Linked DNA regions of Homo sapiens: region 2 is linked to region 1. The links are contacts of gene promoters, found by promoter capture Hi-C in human tissues and cell types (Jung and others, 2019). All regions are on one chromosome and are shown on one strand. Each heading gives the region's core, a stretch centred on a gene start or on the middle of the fragment in contact. The rest is flanking DNA. Distances are from core to core; before and after follow the strand shown. Region 1 holds the start of EEFSEC (eukaryotic elongation factor, selenocysteine-tRNA specific). Region 2 overlaps EEFSEC (eukaryotic elongation factor, selenocysteine-tRNA specific).

What was found. Contacts are between HindIII fragments. The study calls those that stand out against the background at their distance.
Region 2: a fragment that was not itself captured here is called in contact with the fragment with the promoter of EEFSEC in region 1 in 1 of the 25 tissues and cell types used here (lymphoblastoid cells).

The regions. Positions count from the first base shown.
Region 1 is chr3:128,149,954-128,157,523 of GRCh38, reverse strand. EEFSEC (eukaryotic elongation factor, selenocysteine-tRNA specific) reads right to left here and starts at 4,043. Exons shown (of 7, transcript NM_021937.5): 1 at 3,701-4,043. The coding sequence starts at 4,016. It also overlaps a transcript of RUVBL1 not described here. RefSeq lists a silencer at 3,533-4,052 and an enhancer at 4,183-4,412. The HindIII fragment of the contact is 4,118 bases long and covers 313-4,430 here.
Region 2 is chr3:128,385,378-128,392,947 of GRCh38, reverse strand. All of the region lies in intron 6 of EEFSEC (eukaryotic elongation factor, selenocysteine-tRNA specific), which reads right to left. Among named protein-coding and RNA genes, the nearest start is that of DNAJB8-AS1, 74 kb to the left of the region's middle. RefSeq lists enhancers at 3,311-3,898, 3,899-4,488 and a silencer at 7,248-7,542. The HindIII fragment of the contact is 3,717 bases long and covers 3,040-6,756 here.

The sequences.
Region 1 (7,570 bases), core at 2,794-5,293:
TAGCCCCTAACAAGAGTCAGCCTGTCCTTTGAAGCTTTGTACCCAGTCATTGACTTCTCTGTAGCTATGAAAGTCCTACATAGCATCTTCTCCATATAAGGCTGTTCCATCTACAGTGAAAATCTGTTTAGTGTACTCACCTTCATCAATGATCTTAGCTAGATCTCCTGGATAACTTGCTGCAGCTTCTCTATCACCATTTGTTGTTTCATCTTGTACATTTATGTTCTGGAGATGGCCTCTTTCCTCAAACCTCATGAACCAACTTCTGCTAGCTTCAAACTTTTCTTCTGCAGCTTCCTTACCTCTCTCAGCCTTCATAGAATTGAAGAGTTAGGGCCTTGCTCTGGATTAGGCTTCCACTTAAGGGAATGTGGTAGCTGGTTTGATTTTCTATCCAGACCACTAAAACTTTCTCTATAAAGCAATAAAGCTGTCTTGCTTTCTTATCATCTGTGTGTTCACTACAGTAGCACTTTTAATTTCCTTCAGGAACTTTTCCTTTGCGTCCAAAACTTTGCTGTTTGGTGTGGTGTAAGAGGCCTTGCTTTCAGCCTATCTCAGTCTTCAACATTGCCTTCATCACTAAGCTTAATCATTTCTAACTTTTGATTTAAAGTGAGAGACTTGCAACTCTTCCTTTCCCTTGAACGCATAAAGGCTATTAGCTGGATGAATTTTAATATTGTTGTGTCTCAGGGAATAGGGAGGCCTGAGGAGAGGGAGACAGACAGGGAAAAAGCCAGTAGGTAGAACAGTCAGAAAACACACAACATTTATTAAGTTTGCTGCCTTACATAAGCATTGTTTGTGACATTTCAAAATTACAATAGTAACATCAAAGATCACTGATCCCAGATCACCATTAACAGATGACATGTGTTTGAAATGAAGTGAAATGTTTGATGCTTAATATTTGATGAAAAGTTTGAAATATTGTTAAGAATAACCCAAATGTGGCATAGAGACACAAAGTAAGCAATGCTGTTGGATGGGTTGCCTTGAACCTTCGATTTGTAAAAACCACTATCTGCAAAGTACAATCAAGTGAAGCACAATAACATGAGGTATGCACGTATGTTGGAAGCGGATGAGGGAACTATAGGGTAACCTGGGGAAGCATGCAAAGGACTCCAGCTTTGGAGTCAGGCAGACCTGGACTGTTTCACTAACTACCTGCCTCCCTAAGTCCCAATTTTCTCAACTATTAAATGGTAACCACCACGCTCCTTGCAGGGTTTGCCTGGTAAGCAGCAAATACACAAGAAAAGTCAAGCCAATAAATAGTTGTGTGGTTACCACTATCTTCCAGTTGGAGCAAGGTCCAGAATTAGGTTCAAACGTCATACAGCTAAGGAAGAAAGCAAGCTAGGCTTCAAGCCCAGTTTTGTCTGACTCCAAAAGTATGTCCTTCACCACTCATCTACCCTATTTACTAGACAACACTAAAAACTCGCCATCTCATTTTTTAACCTCTGCCTTCCACCTCCAGTCTGGACTGGCTCAGAGTCCATGTTCTAAAATGTACTTTGATGTGACCAAACAGAATTCAGTTATAAGGGGGCAGGGAGGAATGGGTAGAGAATTGTGTGCCCCTTGAAATTCACCTGACTGAAACATGGATTGAGGAGAAGACTTTAGATAGTGTGACCCTGAGCAAGTCCCTTCACTTCTTCAAACTTCTATTTCCTCTACTGTAAAATGGGGAAATGATCTCAGACTGCCTGTAACATGAAACAGTTGGGAGGTAACAAAGATGAAGTACTGTACTTAACAAGCTCACCATTATAGCTGGGACCCAGAATGCCCAGTGACCAATGAGGCCATCTGCCACCAAGCCAATTATCATCTGCCCAATATATATTCCCATGTGTGGCATACAGAATATTGCTGGAAGGAAACACAAGAAAATGGGAACAGAAAGGTAATCAGGTACTGGGGTCAGCAGTGAGAAGTATACTTCTTTAGCTATATACCCTTTTATACCATGTGTTTATATTATTGTATCATTTTTTCTAAAAACAAAACATGTTTTAAAACTCTATCCATATATTTAAGTGGAGTTAAATGGGTCTGGAAAAGTAATCCACAAAGGTATAATAATGGTCTTTTCAGCCAGGCACAGTGGCTCACACCTGTAATCCCAGCACTTTGGGAGGCCGAGGCATGGGGATCACGAGGTCGAGATCAAGACCATCCTGGCCAATATGGTGAAACCCCATGTCTACTAAAAATATAAAAATTAGCCAGGTGTGGTGATGTGCACCTGTAGTCCCAGCTACTTGGGAGGCTGAGGCAGGAGAATCGCTTGAACCGGGGAGAAAGAGGTTGCAGTGAGCCAAGATTGCACCACTGCACTCCAGCCTGGTAACAGAGCGAGACTCCATCTCAGAAAAAAACAAAAAAACAAAAAAACAAAAAACGGGTCTTTTCATTTGCAGAGATAGGAGGGGTACAGAATTTAGGACAGAGGAGTGGGTAAGGGAATGTTTGTCTTATTTGTGATGTTCTATTTCTTCACAAGTAGCATGTATTCATGTATTACATGTATAATTAAAAATTAATGGTACCTCTTTGTGGGGCATTTTGGCAGTACCCACCACGACCGAAAACACACATGCCCCTTGCCCCAGCCAGTTATTATCTATTATCCTACATATATGCGAACATACCAAAGAGTTCTGTTCTAGAATATTCACTGCAAAATGGTTTGTAAATACTGGAAACAGCATAAACGTCCATCATTAAAAGATTTGTTCAGAAAATGTTGGTACAGGCCGGACGTGGTGGCTCACGCCTGTAATCCCAGGACTTTGGGAGGCCAGGGCGGGCGGGTCATGAAGTCAGGAGTTTGAGACCAGCCTGACCAACATGGTGAAACCCGTCTCTACTGAAAATACAAAAAAATTAGCCGGGCGTGGTGGCGCGCGCCTGTAATCCCAGCTACTCAGGAGACTGAGGCAGGACAATCGCTTGAACCCAGGAGGCGGAAGTTGCAGTGAGCCGAGATCGTGCCACTGCACTCCAGGCTGGGCGACAGAACAAGACTCTGTCTCAAAAAGAAAAAAAAAAAAAGAAAAAGAAAATGTTGGTACAAGGGTGCAGTTGAATTCTATGTGAGCTTTAAAAAGAATGATGTAGCTTTGTGTACAGATATGGGGCACTCTCCAGACACAATGTTGAGTGAAATCGTGTCTAAAAGGATGAGGGAAAGAGGGATTTATACATACACACAGATATGCTTGTATTGACGTGGAGCCTTTCTGAAATGATATACAAAAACTGGTAGCAGCGGTTGGCTCTAGGAACGGGAATCAGACCAAATGACAGGTGAATGAAGACAGCCTTTGTATGTATACCCTTTTTGTAGCTTGTGAGTTTTCTTATTTTGAGTTTTCTTTACTTGACCATGTATTATAAACACATTTGGTAGGGATTTTTTGATTTTTTTTTTTTTTTTTTTTTAAGGAAGGCGCCTTGCAGCTCGGTTCTGCTGGATGGGAAAAGCTGAATCTCAAAGCCTCCGCTCACTTGCTGCGGAGCCCTAGGCAAGTCACGTCCGCCTCTTGGGGCGTCAGGAGCCCCACCAATGAGGTGGGGCGATTTCCCGTCCCGGCAAAGGCTCGAGCGAATTCGGACACGGGGCCCGGTCGCTCCGCCCGCGTCCCTGAGCCCGGCTCCCGCCCCGGCCCGCGCTCACCGCCGATGATGGTCCGGATGAGGGAGGCGTGCCCGGGGCAGTCGACCAGCGTGACCTGAAGCAGTGGCTCGCCGGGCTCGGGCTCGGCCTCGGGCGCTGCCTGGAACTCGGGCAAAGACGACCGCAGGCGCGCGGGCAGCGGCACCGAGAAGCACGAGAAGCCCAGATCGAGCGTGATGCCGCGCTCGCGGCTCTGCGGCTGCTTGTCAAAGGCGGCGGTGGAGGCTGTGGTGCTTAGCGCCCGCGCCAGCGCCGTCTTGCCGCTGTCGATGTGGCCCAGCACGCCCACGTTCACGTTCACCCGCCGCCCTGCCATGCCGCCGCCGCCGCCTCGGACACCCGCCCGGCCCGCCCCTCACCTCCCTCGGTAGTCGCCGCGGTCCGGCCCGTTAAGTTGCCCCCCCGTAACCGGCGCGCTGTGCACACCCGTTCCGGCCCGGAAGCTTCCGCCCTCCTGAGGCTCACGGGCACAGCCGAGCGCCGTGCTCCGAGTGGGTGGTCTAGGAACTGGAGGTCACCGTAGGCAGGGTTTCTCTCTCACGTGGCTCCTCCTGCCTGAAGCCTCTAGGAGCCCGAGATGGAGGGATCCTTCTGAGAAGTGAAGCCATTTGGACTTTCTGGGTGAGTGGAGACTTGGAGAACTTTTCTATAGCTATCAAGAGGATTGTAAAATGCACCAATCAGCGCTCTGTAAAACGCACCAATCAGTGCTCTGTAACATGCACCAATCAGCAGGATCCTAAAAGAAGCCAATCACAGGGAGGATTGAAAAAAGGGCGCTCTGATAGGACAAAAACGGAACATGGGGGGGCGAAGGGGGGCGGGGGGGGCGGGGTGGGCGGGGGGAAGACGGGGGCGGGGGGGGCGGGAAGACGGGGGCGGGGGGGAGGGCGGGGGGACGGCGGGGGGCGGGGGAGGGCGGGGGGACGTGGGGGAGGGGGCAAATAAGGGAATAAAAGCTGGCCACCCCCGCCAGCAGCAGCAACCCTCTCAGGTGCCCTTTCGCATTGCAGAAGCTTTTTGCTCTTCACAATAAATCTTGCTGCTGCTCACTCTTTGGGACTGTGCCATCTTTAAGAGCTTTAACACTCACTGCGAAGGTCCGCGGCTCCATTCTTGAAGTCAGCGAGACTAGGAACCCACTGGAAGAAACCAACTCCGGACACACTTCCAATCATTCATACATTTCAGCAAGATCTTACCAAGTGCCTGGTGGGTTCCGCTGGGCTACAGTGCCCGCTAATATTACATTCAGGGGGTGAGGGCTAAGTCAAACAATACAGCCTGAACCAGACCATTTCAGAGAGCGAGAAGTCTCCTAGGGAAAATAAAAGCTGAGATAAAAAGGAGCAGGAGAGGGAGGATGGACAGCTACCTAACTGTGGGTCAGGGAAGACATCTAGGAGTTGCTGTTTGAGTTGAAACTCCAGTGTTGAGAAGGAGCCAACCATGGGAAAAGATGGTTTGAAGATGGAAGAGGACAACATTATCTCTGACTCAGAAATTCTCACCCTGAGAGTCTGTAGCCTGGGCTTAGGAGAGGCCACAAACCTCTAAATTGAACGCACAATGTGTTGTGATGTGCTCTTGCTAGACAGAGGGTCGACAACTCTCACTAGATTCTGAAGTGTCTAGAACCACAAAAAAGGTTGTCAGCCATAGTCACCAACCAGAGGTAACAAACCTAAGTGTCTGCTCTGGCCAGGTGGTGGGTAAATCAAAGAAGAGAAGTTAAAAGAGTCTAAGATGACAGGGAGTGGTGGGGACCTGGGAGACCTGGAGAGCCCTTTTCCTGTGCAAAGAGGGAAGCCACTGCTCAGTCTCAGCCAGTGATACCAGGCAGGAATGCTAGCCCAACATTGCCTCCTCCTTCCATTTTTCTGGAGAAGAGAGTGTTTTTGTAACACTGTGGCGGTGGAGCACAAAGTTCACAGGATCTTACCTTTGCCCTCTGTGATGAGCCAGACCATGTGCGGATGTATTCATGCTTGCAGTAACTGCCTCCTTCGTTCCACCACTCTCCACTAGGAACAGAGTCCATGTCATAGACTGAATTGTGTCCCTCTCAAATTCATATGTGGACACCCTGACCCCCAGTGTGATAGTATTTGGAGATGGGACGTTTGGGAGGTTAGATGAGATCATGAGAGCGGGCCCTTGTGATGGGATTAGGGTCCTTACAAGAAGAGAACAGAATCTTTGTTTCCGTTTTCCCACCTTGCAAATAGGAAACTGTAAAAATACGCCTCCCATTAAAAAAAATCTAGTAGTAAAAGCAGTAAACGTATTTAAAAGGGAGGGTTAGTAAATAGGTAATAAGAGCTTTAGAGGCTTTATGTACCTCTGAGAAATATTTCAACTAACAAAGACTTTGTACAGGGCCTGGCTTCAAATAAACCTCATTTCTTACCTCTGTTTTAAACAGAATCCTGAAATGGTAATGAAAAGAAAAAAGGTTTGGCTGGGCACGGTGGTTCATGCCTGTAATCCCAGCACTTTGGGAGGCTGAGGCAGGCAGATCACTTGATATAGTTTATATATCTATATATAGAATATATATAGATTTTATATATAGATATATAGAGTATATATATATAGAATATATACAGTGTATATATAGAATATATAGAGTATATATAGAATGTATATAGAGTATATATAGAATATATATAGAATATATAGAATATATATAGAATATATATAGAATATATACAGAATATATATAGAATATATAGATATATAGAGAATATATAGAGAACATATAATATATATAGAATATATAGAATATAGAATATATATTATATATATAATATATAATATAATATATATAATATATATAGAATATATAATATATAATATATAGAATATATAATATATATAATATATAGAATATATTATATATATAATATAGAATATTATATTATATATATAGAATATATATATAGAATATATATATATAATATATAATATATAGAATATATATAGAATATATAATATATAGAATATATAATATATAGAATATATAATATATAGAATATATATAGAATATATAATATATAGAATATATAGAGAATATATAATATAGAATATATATAGAATATATAATATATAGAATATATATAGAATATATAATATATAGAATATATATAGAATATATGTATAGAATATGTATAGAATATATGTATAGAATATATACATAGAATATATATTCTATTAGTTCTGTCAAATATATATATTCTGTGGAATATATATATGGAATATACATATATACATATGGAACATACATATATACATATGGATGTATATTCCATACAATGGAACATACATATATATATATATAATGGAATATATATACACATATATGGAATATATATACATATATGTATACATATTCCAAGATGGAAGAGGACAACATTATCTCTGACTCAGAAATTCTCACCCTGAGAGTCTGTAGCCTGGGCTTAGGAGATATATATATATTCCATGTATATTCCATTAGTTCTGTCCCTCTAGAGAATCCTGACTAATACAAATCTTCTAACAAATATTCTAACAAATATTGATTGAACACCTGCTGTGTGGCAGACATGATATTTTGGAGGGATACAACTGTGGATGAATAAGGCAAATAATGATGAAGTGCTTTGGGAGAAATAAGGCAGCATGGCTGAGAGTTACTGGTGCAAGGGAGGAGGATGCTTATTAAGGGAGAGGCATTTGAGCTGACAAAGATGCAAGAGAAGGGCCAGGCTGCACAGAACCGAGGGAAATTGATGAAAGAACGTGCTGCACAGAGAAAACAGCAGGCTCAGAGACAGCAGCAACCTAAGCCATGTGGCACGTGGCGAGGTGGGGCTGAAGAGAAGAAGC
Region 2 (7,570 bases), core at 3,649-6,148, 230 kb before region 1:
GGGAAACCAGGGCCACAGGAGACAGCAAACACTGAAGGAGGTCTGGGGAGGGGGCTGTACCCACCACCCCCTTCCCTGCTCATGGTGCCCCACACCAGCCCGAGGGCACGTGGAGCCAGCAGACAGCGAGCCTAGGGCAGCACCCGAGCAGCCTGTGTGTGCCAGGCCCAGCCTCTGTCATCCCCCCACACTCTCTCAGGTGGGCACAAGTAGGCTCAGGGGTGAGGCGGGAGTGGTTGTGCACAGTGGTCTGGGCAGCATGCTGGGAAGGGAGCTTGGCGTGAGGGGCAGCCTCCTGTCACTTGTTTGGCTCTGTGTGGGGCCAGGGATGCTCTGGGTCAGGGCAGCAGCAATGGCACTGAGTGCCCATGACAGCTAGGCCCTAAGCGAGATGCCGCGTGCCTCGGCCCATGGAAGTAGATCCTGTCCAGAATACAGGTGGATGGCAGGTTCTGTCACGGGTGAGCTGAGGTACCCTGGGTCCCCTCGCCTATTACAAGGGGACAATGACCCTGCCTCCCTGGGCAGGCCCCGTCTGTGCAAGACTGCATGCCTGGTGGGCAGGGCCCACATGTGGAACCCTGCTCCCCGGTGAGGAACAACCAGCTGACATGGCATGAATGACTTGCGTCAGTTCCCACAGCCAGGACATAGGGGGCCTGGCTTTGAACCTAGGCGGCTGGCTCCAGAACCTGCATCTGCAATGTCTGCTGCCCTCACGGGGGGCTGGTGCGGGTCTCTTCTGCCTAACTCCCACTCTGGGTCCCGCATGCCCTGGCTCAGAGACAACAGAGGCTAGCACTGGGCATGAGGGCTGCCAGCAGGCTGTTAAGAGCTGCAGATCCCTACCCCAGAACACATAGCTCTGCCCTCAGCTGGCCACCTCACTCTTGCAAACTGGGTGAAGAGGAGCAAAGGATCACCATGCTCTCCGCAAAGACAGGACCCAGGGAAGCCACGGCTGGGGCACACTCAGGCACTCGCCCTTCTGGAAGCGCTTGCAGACTCCCTCCAATGGCCCCCACAGGGCATCCATGGTGCTGGGCGCCTCCCTCTGGCACAGCACAAGCAGAAGCTCACTCCTGCATTCGTTGCTTGTCTTTCTGCCCATGATTGCCCTCAGAGCACCCGCTGGGCACCAGGCACTGTCCCAGACTCTGAGGACTGCCTGAGTGGGCCAGGTGGGGCCGCTATGCTGGTGGAGTCCACAGTCCAGGGGGTGCAAGACCCACATATATGTGTAGAGAAATGTGCAAAGGAATGAGAGAGCACCTGATAGGAACGGGTGCCAGGAACCAAACTTTAAAAATGTGCTGAGAGAGAAGAGCCCATCGGTGAGGGTCAGGGAACTGGGAGCATTGGCTTGCTTCAAAGCGCTTGCTCTATCACTCACTCCTGCCATGCCTGGACTCCACCACACCCTGAGCAGGCCTGGAGGGCACCACCACGACAGTCGTGGCCATGTCCTCCCTGCCTTCCCCAGATGGGCTTCCCCACTTGGTCACCAGCCAGGGCCCAGAACCTCGAGGTTGGAAACACCTTTGGTGGTCAACTGGGAGGCCACCCCAACCCAGGTGTGGGGCTCTTCTGCCTCTGGGGAGACAGATGGGAGGCTGCTGTCCTGAAGAGCTCTCCATAGCTTGGGGCGGGAGACCATTTCGTTTCTTGCCTTTTGGAATTAATGAGCACAGCACCAGCCACTGCTTTAGAGGGCAAGGAACTGTGGTTTGGAGAATGCCATGGCTGACCCAGGCCAGGGAGTCTGTGCATTCATTTAATCAAGAATGCTAGCGAGCACCTACTCTATGCAGGCATGCACCGGGGGCGGGGCTGCAGAGGTGAGGGAATCACGCAGGCCCAGTGTGGGCGTTCTGGTGGGAGACAGGCGATGCCAACACATCCATGTGTCGTATGACAGGTGGTGCCAGCTGCTCGGGAGAGGGGAGTGTCAAGAGGGTGTTTTGCTCCTTTAGATAGTGATCAGCAAAGGGCCCAGGGTGGGATGACATCTGAACAGGGACTTGTGAGGGATGAGGACACTGGGAGGGAAGAACACCCAGCCTGAGGGCGCCAAGCAAAGGCCCCAAGGGCCAGCACTGGGGCCAGCGTGTGGGGAGAGCAGGAGATGGAGCCGGGGTGATCATGGGGTATGAGGGTGTGTTTGTGTGGGTGCCCGAGTGGTGCAGAAAGTGGGGTCTCCTGCTAGATCTGCAGAGGGGCTGGGTCTGGCTCCTGAGGGCAGGGGCCCTCTGGCTGCCTTGGGCCCTGGGCACAGACCACAGCATGGAGCAGGGAGAAGAGGTAGATTGTGGCCGCTGTGTCCTGTGTCGCTTCCAGCCCAGGCCTGCAGGGCCCACTCCAGCATGACTGTCTGTAGAGAACAGCAAGCAAGGGCCTCTCTCTTTCAGACACAGAAGCCCAAAGCAACTAACATTCTGGGTTAGGTTTTTTCATTTGGCGAAGGTGATTCACATCTGTCTCACCCCCTTCTGTGGTGGTCAAAGCTCTAACCCCCTCTACCTCCCAAAATACAGTGGCAAAGAGGCGAAAAGGTCCCTTCCCCACATGCACCCCTCCTGAGCCTGGCTGTGCTTGTTCCTGGGCCCATGCCCATCTCACAGCCAGCTCTCCCCAGCAAATGCCACCTCCTCTATATAGTACACATTAACAGAGCGGACAGGTGAGAGGATGAATGAGGAGAAGTGACTGCACAGATCACTCCACTGAGTGACCCCAAGTCCCACTTTTGTGTTAATCATGACTTTGAGTTGTCACAACAATGTAAATTATATCCAGGAGAAACAGTCCCAACTATGGGACTGTTCATGAGGCAAAGCACTTTCACAAGATGCAGATAAATGTGATGATACGAGAAAAATTTAGGGCCAGCGCCTTCTATTTTAAAATAGTTGTGTGGTGGTAGCATACCCATGACACTGGGCCTCCCTGCCTCCAGGACCCAAATCCAAATCCACAGCATCTTACGGGCGCTGCCAACTCAGCCACCCCTGCAACCGGACTCCCAGCTTCTGCTACCAACATGGAAAGAAGGTGGGACTGGATCCACGTGGGCTAGGCTTGACCGGCTAGGTGCTCTCTCAAGCTAGTTAGTTCACATCTGGGGCCTGCCCTGCCCATTCTGCTGGAGCAGCCTCAGTCCACACCACATCACTCTGCTGGCAGATGAGGCTCTCGGCGTTAAGCCAAGGCCTCCCTTTCCCAAGGTCAAGCATGCCATGCTCCCTGTTGGGGTGGGTCCATGAAACAACCACGTCCAGTGAAAACCAAAAACCCTCCCGATCTTCCTGTAACTGGACTTGTTTATAAACCAGGCTTCCTGCAGCAAGGCGGCCAGCCTCACCCAGCAGCGTGGGCTCAAGGATGGTCAGGGGTTGTTCCCAAGTGCCCAAGGTGGGCCTCTTCCAGGGGGATAGCCAGAAACCTGGGCTCTAGGCCTGGGTTTACCACCAACCACTTGTGACTTAGGAGGCCATGTGGGCCCTCTGGGTGGAGTCCTCATATGGCAACCAAGGCTGAACAGAAAATCTGTCTGGGATGGCTGAGACGGTGCCAGGCAGGACCACTCTGTGTGGGGAAATGTGGACATCGGATGACCTCCTGTGTCCTGTTATGCCCGCCCATCCCCAACCAAAATGCCTGCCAGAGTGGTGGGCGGCCTGGCTTGTCTTCCTCCTCTGCAGGGCTGTGATGTCCTCGGGTGAGTGTCAGCACCCTTGCTGCTCCAGATGTCTGCGCTCCCTCCTTAGCTGGGTTAAGATGCCTCGCTGCAGCACCTCTGCCTGCCTGCCTCCCTCCAGCCTCCATCCCCATGGCTCCGGCCACAGGACACCGCAGGCTGCCTCGGCCCAGGGCACACCGGCTCCCTTGCCTGGAACTCCTGCCCTACAGACTGCCCTTCAGGTGGTGGCCCCAGCTGACTACCTCTTGTGGCTCCTGGGTCCCAGCACCACATGAGGCACAGGGACAGTCCAGGCAGTTCCTCAGGCTCCTGACCCAGAAATCAAGAGTGGGTGTCAGGTGGACTGAAGAGGCCCTGAAGAACCAACAGCAGACCTGCAGCTTGGGGACCCTCTACCTCTAGTCAGGAAGGCAAGACAGACAGCCCTCCTCCATTTCACGTCTTCTGGACTGAGTTTCAAAAAACACCCCTGCAAGGGCTCAGGGGCTAGAGGCAGCAGTTGGCCTCTCTGCTAGACGCTCTGGCCGGCACCACTGAAAGCACACAGTCGACCAGGAGAAGGCCTCGAAGAGGCAAAGGGATGAGGGGTACAGGCAGACTACACCAGGGAATGGGCCTTACACAGCAGTGGCCTCACTCAGCAAACTCAGGAGGCTCGGGCCAGGCCAGTCCCTCACTGGAGAGCAGTGGGTGCTGCAGTGGAGACACAGCCCACCTGGGCAGACATGTCACAGGCAGCCGGGGGCTCAGACCCCACCTAAACGGCAGTTACAGAGCGTGGACCCTGGCCAAGCCCGCTGCTGGTGGCTGCGGACTCATGGCAGGCAGATTGTTCCCTGTTCCCCACCCTGGAGGAGCTCGAAGGCAGAGATGGACTGTAGATAAATTGAGGGGTCCGAGAAGGGGTGTCAGGAAGCACTGGAGGGGGACTTGGCATGCAGGCAGCTAGAGGAGGTAGTGCTGGAGGCGAGTTAGTGGAGGCGGGGGCAAGAGGCTGCCAACAGGGCTGGACCCCTTCTGTGGCTGTCCCCAAGGAAGGCGACCAAATTGGATATTAAAAAAAGGAAGACTCTAAGAGCGGGAGCAATGGAAAGAGGAACAGAGCTCAGAGAAAGGACTTTTTTTCTCAAGTCGTGGTTCTGCCACTGCCAGTTCAGAGTGAGGACCTGGTGGGTGTAGGCTCTGGACAGGGCAACCCCAGGGGCTGGCTGGGCCACTAGGCCTCCTTCTCCTGGCACCCTAATGGCTGCACCTTACTTGAGCTTCCAGGTCTCTGCTCGTGGCACCCTCATGCCTAAATAGCCATCCAGTGCCTGCCCGTGCCCATCTAGAAAAGGCTGGCTGAGACCTACTTCCTCCAGGAAGTGCTCCATGCTGCCTGGGGCAGGCACATCAGGTGGGGGCTGCCAGGGCTCCAAACATGCAAGCGGGGCTCCATACACTCGCAGGGTTTGAGTGGGCCTCCATATGCGCGCAGGACTCCATAGGTGCACATTCCTTTCCCCAGCCCCAGTGGAGCCTGTAGGGAGGGGTCTTGGTGGTGCCACAGGGGCCAGCCCAGCCTGGCCCTGCCATCCAATGCTAAGCACACGTGACAAAGATCCTTCTTCGTGCCAGTCCATAGCCTCCTCTCCCATTCTGGGCTGAGCTGAGGAGAGGCCAGCAGCCGACTTAATTCAGGCTGGTATCTGTTCTCCCTGGGGTAGATTTCTCGCACCCTCAGAAGGCCCACCCGAGCCCCACTTCACGCATCAAAACTCTTCGACGCCCCCCAGACTTCCCAGATCTTTCTTGGCATCACGACTTTTGCGAGCCTGGACTCATGCACCTTTGTGTCTTGCCACACAGCACCTTCATTTCTGAACTTTGAAGAAGGTGTATACTTATCTTTCCTAAATAGTCAGAACTATTGAGAACTGCCAGGACATGTGGATATTTTTATGAAAGCAAAACTCAAGCATATGCTGGGCAGATGGGTCTGACCAGAAGGGACAGAACACTGCCTCTGTCCTCAGGAGCCACCTCCTGAGCCAAAGCCCCCCAGTCCATGGCTCCCATACCCCTGTGACCCCTGCAGCCCCTGCGGCCAGGTGCAGTACCAGTGGAGGAGCACAGGGCCGAGGAGGGTGGCTGGTGTTGCCAGCCCTGAGGGAGCTGCCCACGCGCCACCAGGCAAGTTGTCCATCCTCCTCACCTGGGCCCTGTGGTAATTCACAGAGCCAGGCCTATGAGGGGTGAGCACCTGGCAGCCCTGCCTGGGAGGAGGCTGCAGAGGCCAGCATATGATGTGGTTTGGATGTCTGTCCCCTCAAAATATCATGTTGAAATGTGACCCCCAGTGTTGGAGGTGGGCCTCGGGGGAGGTGTTAGATCATGGGCACGGATCCCTCATGAGTGGCTTGGTGCCCTCACCACAGTGATGAGTGAGTTCTCGCTCTGTGAGTCCATGTGAGAGCCGGTTGTTTAAAGGAGCCTGGCACCTCCTCCTCACTCTCTTGCTCCTTCTCTTGTCATGTGATGCACCTGCTCCCCCTTTGCCTTCCACAATGATTGTAAGCTTCCTGAGGTCTCACCAGAAGCAGATACGGGTGCCATACTTCCTGTACAGCCTTTTTAAAATTTTATTTTAAATAAATTATCCAGTCTCAGGTGTTCCTTTATAGCAATGCAGACTCACACAGCAGCCATGGGGCCTGGCTGTGCCACCATGAAGGCCTGGCCTCACTACCCTCAGCTGTGGTGTCACCTGTCACTGCATCCCCCCCCCACTGCCTGTCTCAGCTGATACCATATCCCACAGGGCTGGGGGCCCTGGGGAACTGGAGGGGATGTGCTCAGCATGGACAGAACACCCTGCTTTTCAAGAGAAACTGGAAATCTGGATTTTTTACATGAAAATTCCTGATTTTTGAGAACGTTTTCAGGGCATAGGTAGCCTGCAGCCTGCTAGGGTATGGCCCCAACTTGTAGGTCATTCTTTCTCTCCCTGGGGTAGATTTCATGCACCCTTGGAAGGCCCACCTGAACCCTACTTCACCCATCAAAACTCTCAAATCTCCCCCAGGACTTCCCAAATCTTTCTCAGCATCACTAGTTCTGCCATACCCATTGCCACCACTTCGACTATTTACTAAAGATTTCTTTAGTCAACTCATCTAACTCAATTAGAGAACATTCTATGCTGCCATAAGTGGAAATCCAGTCTCCCTTGACATAAATAGAGTACCTGTTAAAATCAACATGTAACTGTGAACATTCTTTGGGGGCTTATTTGTGGACTACCTAGAGTCATCCTGCACACGCCCAGGGTGGATGTGAGCAGCCCACTTGGGGAACTGCTGCTCATGTTCCACCGTGGGATGTTCCCTCCCTTAGAACCAGGCCTCCTTGGACTGTTCTGGGCTGACCTGCCTATCAGTGTCGTGCCCCAGGCCTCAGCCTCCTGCCTCTTGTTCCTCTGCCCAGATTCAGGCTAGGGAGCTGAGGGCTGCGGGCAGAGGGCCAGCCTCATGAGCCAGATCGTGAGTCCGGGTGAGGCCCTTGCACTCTCCAAGCTTAGCCAGTGAGTGGTGGAATGGAACTCATAAGTCAATGAGGTAACTCATATAAAACAGTCAGCACGTGCTGGGCATGTAGTAAATGTTAGTGTCCACTGTTGTTCTCATCGGGACTGGTGCATGGCAAGCTCACTGAGCTGTGTGTGGGAGGACACCCTGCAAGCCACAGCCGCACTCACAATCTGCTGCCTGTGGGTCAAAGTTGACCCTTAGGTATGTTTGCTTTGGCCTCTTCATGTGCTTTAAAAATTGTGGACTAGTTGTCAACATTTTAAAATGTGGGCCTGCATTCCCAGGGCAGCAGGTGGCTTGA